Regions from separate parts of the Homo sapiens genome. Here region 1 is linked to region 2. Evidence: promoter capture Hi-C in human tissues and cell types (Jung and others, 2019). All regions are on one chromosome and are shown on one strand. Each heading gives the region's core, a stretch centred on a gene start or on the middle of the fragment in contact. The rest is flanking DNA. Distances are from core to core; before and after follow the strand shown. Region 1 has its middle 24 kb from the start of LINC02944. Region 2 holds the start of KCNK18 (potassium two pore domain channel subfamily K member 18).

Evidence for each region. The method cuts DNA at HindIII sites, captures the fragments that hold promoters and counts their contacts. A contact is called where the count stands out against the background at its distance.
Region 1: a fragment that was not itself captured here is called in contact with the fragment with the promoter of KCNK18 in region 2 in 1 of the 25 tissues and cell types used here (spleen).

What each region holds. Positions count from the first base shown.
Region 1 is chr10:118,215,856-118,218,555 of GRCh38, reverse strand. No RefSeq gene overlaps it. Among named protein-coding and RNA genes, the nearest start is that of LINC02944, 24 kb to the left of the region's middle. The HindIII fragment of the contact is 4,157 bases long and covers 1-2,700 here.
Region 2 is chr10:117,196,238-117,199,039 of GRCh38, reverse strand. It overlaps KCNK18 (potassium two pore domain channel subfamily K member 18), which reads right to left and starts at 1,551. Exons shown (of 3, transcript NM_181840.1): 1 at 1,329-1,551. The coding sequence starts at 1,551. It also overlaps the pseudogene RPL12P26. The HindIII fragment of the contact is 5,609 bases long and covers 1-2,802 here.

The DNA of each region.
Region 1 (2,700 bases), core at 1-2,500, 1.0 Mb before region 2:
ACAGTGGCTCACGCCTGTAATCCCAGCACTTTGGGAGGCTGAGGCAGGCGGATCACTGGAAATCAGGAGTTTGAGACCAGCCTGGCCAACATGGTGAAACCCTGTCTCTACTAAAAATACAAAAATTAGCCAGACATGGTGCTGGGTGCCTGTAGTCCCAGGTACTTGGGAGACTGAGGCAGGAGAATTGCTTGAACCTGGGAGGCAGAAGTTGCAGTGAGCTGAGACCACACCACTGCACTCCAACCTAAGTGACAGAGTGAGACTGTCTAAATAAATAAATAAACTAATAAATAAATAAAAATAAAAATAAATTAAAAAAAAAACCCACAAAGGTGCTATGGTCTAAATGTGTCTTCCTGAAATTTATATGTTGAAACCTAATCACCAAAGTGACAGTATTAAAAGGTGGGGTCTTTGGAGGTAATAAGGTCATAAGGGCTGTACCCTGTGAATGGGACTAATGCTGTTATAAAAGAAGCCCCAGAGAACCTTGTCCCTTCCATCGTTCGAGGACACATAGAAAACACTGTCTATGAGGGACGGCCTCTCACCAGACACTGAATCTGCTATAGCCTTGATTTGGAACTTTCCAGACTCAAGAACTGTGAGCAATACATTTTTATTGTTCATAAATTACCCAGTCTAAGGTATTTATTGTAGCATGCTGAATGGACTATGACAAAGGAGAAGGTTGATACTCAAGATGCCTGCCACAGGGTATTCCACACACGATTAGAAGGTAGGCTGCAAATTTGTCACGGCAATTTCTTACATAGTAAAGTTGCTATGATTAAGAGCTCGGCCATTTGCTGACTTGCTTATGGTTTGAATCCTGGCTGATTTCACCAGTGTTATTTGGAGAGAATTACTTAACTTCCCTGTGCCTCAATTTCTTCATCTGTAAGATAGGAATAATGGCTGGGGGAATAAAATTAAATAATACATGCAAAGCACTTGCCACAAGTCAGTTCTTGCCATGGAAATGTTCGGTATGCAAGGTCTAGAAGGCAAAAAGTAAAGGAAGCTTCAAAGTTATGGTGTGGGAGGGAATTTCAAATGAATGATAAAATCTGGCTAGGGAGTTTAGAAAAGGCTTCGTGCGAGGAGTGGCCATTAGAACAATTTGTACACTTGGAGATGGGTGGGAAGATGCTTTTTCCAGCCGGTCTGGTTTTGGGGGAACAGGGACCAGTCTAGTTTGGCTGGAGCATAGAAAACAGAGAGGAAGTGTGTGGGACTAATTGGAAAGATGGGCAAAGCCCACCTGCGGACATCAGGGTGAAGAGGCTAACCCAATTGGCACAAGTGATCGTGTCCTCTGCCCAAGTTCTGACATCTGCATTGGCAATGGCTCTCCCAGGAAGAGGGACATTCCCTGGTCTCTGGAGAAGCCTAAACCAGCCTATGCCCTGCATCTCTGCACTGCTCCACTGCTGTTCCTCCTCCTGTCTGGTGGTTTTCAACCTGCTGTAAATTTTGTGGTTCTGTTTTGATGTATCTCACACCACTCCTCATTGGTAGAAACAGAACTGCCCACTGTTAGGGTTTTACACTTAACTCAGATGTTTTATTCCAAACTTGGAGTTTTACAATCTTGTACTGCATGTCTCTCCACCCCCTCACTTCTTTATCTATATCCAGGGTTATATATGTGACTCTGTGTCTGGTCCCCCGTGACCCCTGGATCATTTCCATGCTGTCTCTGGGATCCACAGGCATTCTAAATCTTATCCTGACCTAATTCGCCTCTTCCTTCTCTGCAGGGCACTGCAATGCGCTCACATAGTACTGCTCTGTATCAGAGATGTGGCAAGCTGCTCTCCCCCAGTCACAAACCATAAAATTAAGAAGGGCAAGACTCTCCTGATTAATTTCATTTGTCTGTCTTTAAACCCATTAAAGAAAATGCCTGTTTCAACCATTCTTTTGCAAGCATATTTGTAAATAATACTTAAAAAACACTTCATCTAATTATTCTTACCACAGCTGAATGCTAACAAATTGAAGATGAGATTTATGTTTAGACAGCTTTAAGGTACTAATTTTTTCACAACAATAGGCGCTGCAATTGACAAAATTAAAAAAGAAGATGTAGACCAACAAAAATTAATTTGCACCAGGCTTAATAGTTTCTCTAAGTAAATCAGCCTCTCCTCGGCTGCCTAAGAAAAGCCATAAAAATTTCTGAGAAGAATCTGGAGTTTAGGATTCCACACTAATTGCTTTCTCTCCCCTTTTACGTCACCTCCTTTTCTTGTTCATCTTGACTGCAAGGGGACACGCAGTTTCTATATTCAAAATGCCTTCGGCTCTGCTGGGGTAAGGAAGTCAGGGGGAGGAGGGGGCAGGCCAGGGAACCACATAAATAAATGGGAATTTCTACATGGACATGAGGATTTTCTTCTTCATTTTAAAAAAATGAGAATAAGGCACGAGTATAAATTCCAAAAAGAGCAATTTATTTAAGTCTATCATTTTTGGCAACACAATAGAACGCAGTTTGGGATGAACAGTCACAAATCACTCCCCTTCCCACTGTCTGTTTTCTCCACCATATGTTGTGGAGAATACAATTCACATGCTGAAGCTTCGCCTCCTCTCCATGTGAGAAAGCACATTGTGCTATCAGCGGCCTGGTCACTGAGCCAGTGTTTTTTGGAGTGGTGGGGTGGGAATAAAGAGAAAGTAAGGAATACA
Region 2 (2,802 bases), core at 302-2,801:
GGCCTTATCCTTGAAACTTTAAGATTCCCAGCCCAGCCCTGGAGATCCTGATTAAGTGGGTTTGGAGAAGAGCCTGGGGATGTGTACTCTAGGCAGTCTCCCTGGTTGATTCTGATGTGTTGCTGGCTTAGAGAGCCTTGAACTTGCTGGTAGTCTAGGCCCTGCGATGGTGCAGTGTCCCTTTGGCAGCAATCTCCCAGGTCCACTGAGCAGGCTGGCGTCTGTCTGGCAAGGATGCAGGGAGTGGGACCCTCCACAGACAGGAGACTCTGCCTCCCTGGACTGGCCTCTTGTCTCTGGGAGCTGCACCTGTTCCCAAATCAAGGTCTGGGCTGTGGAAGGAGCCCCCACACCAGAGTGGGAGGGGAGGGGCTCCCTGCACCCCATTCTTCTCCTGACTTTTAGTGTCTGGTTTTCCTTTGTTTTTCATTTATCTACTCTCCCTTGTTTTATCTTGCTCTGTTGAATACAATAACAAGCTTCCTTCGAGGAACACAGCAGAGTAGAAACAAGTGACTAAATATGAAGAAAATGCAATGAGGACACTATAAAGTGACTTCTGTCTTCCAAGAGCCAGAATGTTCCTTGTCTCCTCTGCTTCTCACAGGGTCCCTGTGACCACCAAGTCTGAGATTGGGGGTCCCCTTCTCTCCCGCAGACTGAGACCCAGAGAGAACAAAGCTTTGCCTCCACGGATTGCAGAGCAAGCTGGGAGAGCAGCCAGGACAACAGCCAGGACCCCCACCCCTCCCCCCAGGTCTTCTCACAACACCTCCCCACTCCGCTGAGCCAGACAGCAGAAAAGGAGTTTGAAACAGGAAGTGGGGGCGTGGGTGGCAGGTGCTCCTGCTGGAATTTAAATCCAATTTGGGTTGTTCCCTAAATTCTCATCCCTGCAAACTGAATCCTGGGTCAGGCAGACATAGTTCTGAAAAGCAAGCTAGCCCCCCAACCCCAGCCCCAGATTTGCTCACCCATGCACCCCACCCCACCAAATTCCCAGTAATCCATCGTCCCCTGAGGCCACTGGTCTGGATGGGGCTGGGTGCTGAGGCACAGGAAGGGGAGCTGGTCTTTCCTGAGCACCTCAGGGTGCTCAGGGCCTTTCCTGCATTCTTCACAGCAACCCTGAGAGGCAGTTAGTCTCCCCACTTTTCAGAGGAGAAAACAGAGGTTCAGAAAGAAGTTACTCGCTTAAAGTGCCCAGGCATGAGGAGGATCCAGGCAGGCAGCTCCCAGACCCAGCCTCCTAGAAGGCAGCCCTCTGCTCTTGGGGGACTGCTGCCACCACGGAGAAAAGGCCCACCCTGTCCAGGTGAGGCACCTACCTGTTTCACTGCAGTTCAAGATTCTGCAGAGCTCCTCCAAGAACTTCTCAAACTCTCCATCATCTGCTGCCACCAGGACCTGGCCGTCCTCAATGGCAGAGAAGACCACAGCACCCACCAGGGCGTAGGTCACCAGAAAGCAGAGGAAGCAGAGGCCAGGGAAGAGCTTTCCCAGGGCCTCTGGGCAGCATCTCCTGGCCTGGGGGTGCCCCGAGACCTCCATCGTCCCTGAAGCATGCAGGGCAAGAGGAGCTGGTGGAAGAGGCAGGAGCATCTAAGCCCCGCCAGGAAGATGGGGTAGGAGTGCCCGGAGAACAGCCAGGCTCCAGTGCTAAGTGGATGGTGCGTGTGCTTCCCCAAGGACTCAGGAAGCAGCCGGCAACTCATCATGTTCAGTTCTTCCGAACTACTCAGATGGCGCCCTCCCTAGCACCCCAGATTGCTATTGATCCGCTGGGCCGGCCCTGGAGCTGCCTGGAAGGGGCTTTGGGAGGATAGTGTGGTTGTTGTTTTGTGCTACGTTTAATCTTTTCTATGCCCAAACTGCAGTTTTGAATTGCAGATCCCAAACCTGATCTTTGGCGTTTAGTCAAGTGATTCTTTCCTGAGAGCTGTCTGTGACACAACTTGGCTTAGGGTACCTGGTCTTCTGGACAGGTGATAATAGTAGTAACCTATAATAGTAACAGTAACCATAGTAACTAATGCGGCCAGAGCTCAATGGTTTCCAAAGGACCTTTATCCTGTGTGGATCTAATTATTGGTCCCAATTCTTCACTCCCCTGCTGCATACCCCCCCTTGCTGGGGCCTCACGGTGGGCAGAGTGTACTTCCTTGAACTTGGCTTTAGGGTAGGTCATCTCACTTGCTCCAGACAGCTGGGCATTAGCAGATGTGATGCAAGCAGGGGCTAGGCCTGTGCTTGTGCATTTGGACTTGCTTAGCTATGCCTGTGTCTGCCATGAGAAAAGGTGCCCCACCTTTCAATTTTCAGCTCAGAGTAGACCAATGTGCAACTTTCTTTGGTGGTCCTGAATCCAGGTTCATCCAACACCACCTACCTCCACCATACAGCCTAAGTTTGACCCCAACGAGATTAAAGTCTGAGATGCACCGGGAATGATGTTGGTGCCACATCTGTGCTGGCCCCTAAGATCAAACCCCTGTGTCTGTCTCCAAAACACATTGGTAATGACATCGTTAGGGCAACCGGTGATTTGAAGGATCTGAGGATTACAGTGAAACCATTCAGAACAGGCAGGCATAGATTGAGGTAGTACCTTCTGCCTCTGCCCTGATCATCAAAGCCCTCAAGGAACCTCCAGGAGACAGAAAGAAACAGAAAAACATTAAACCCAATGAAAATATCATTTGATGAGAATGTCAACATTGCCTGACAGATGCAGCTCCAATCTTTAGTTAGGGAACTCTCTGGAACAATTAAAAAGATCCCGGGGACTGCACCATCTGTGGG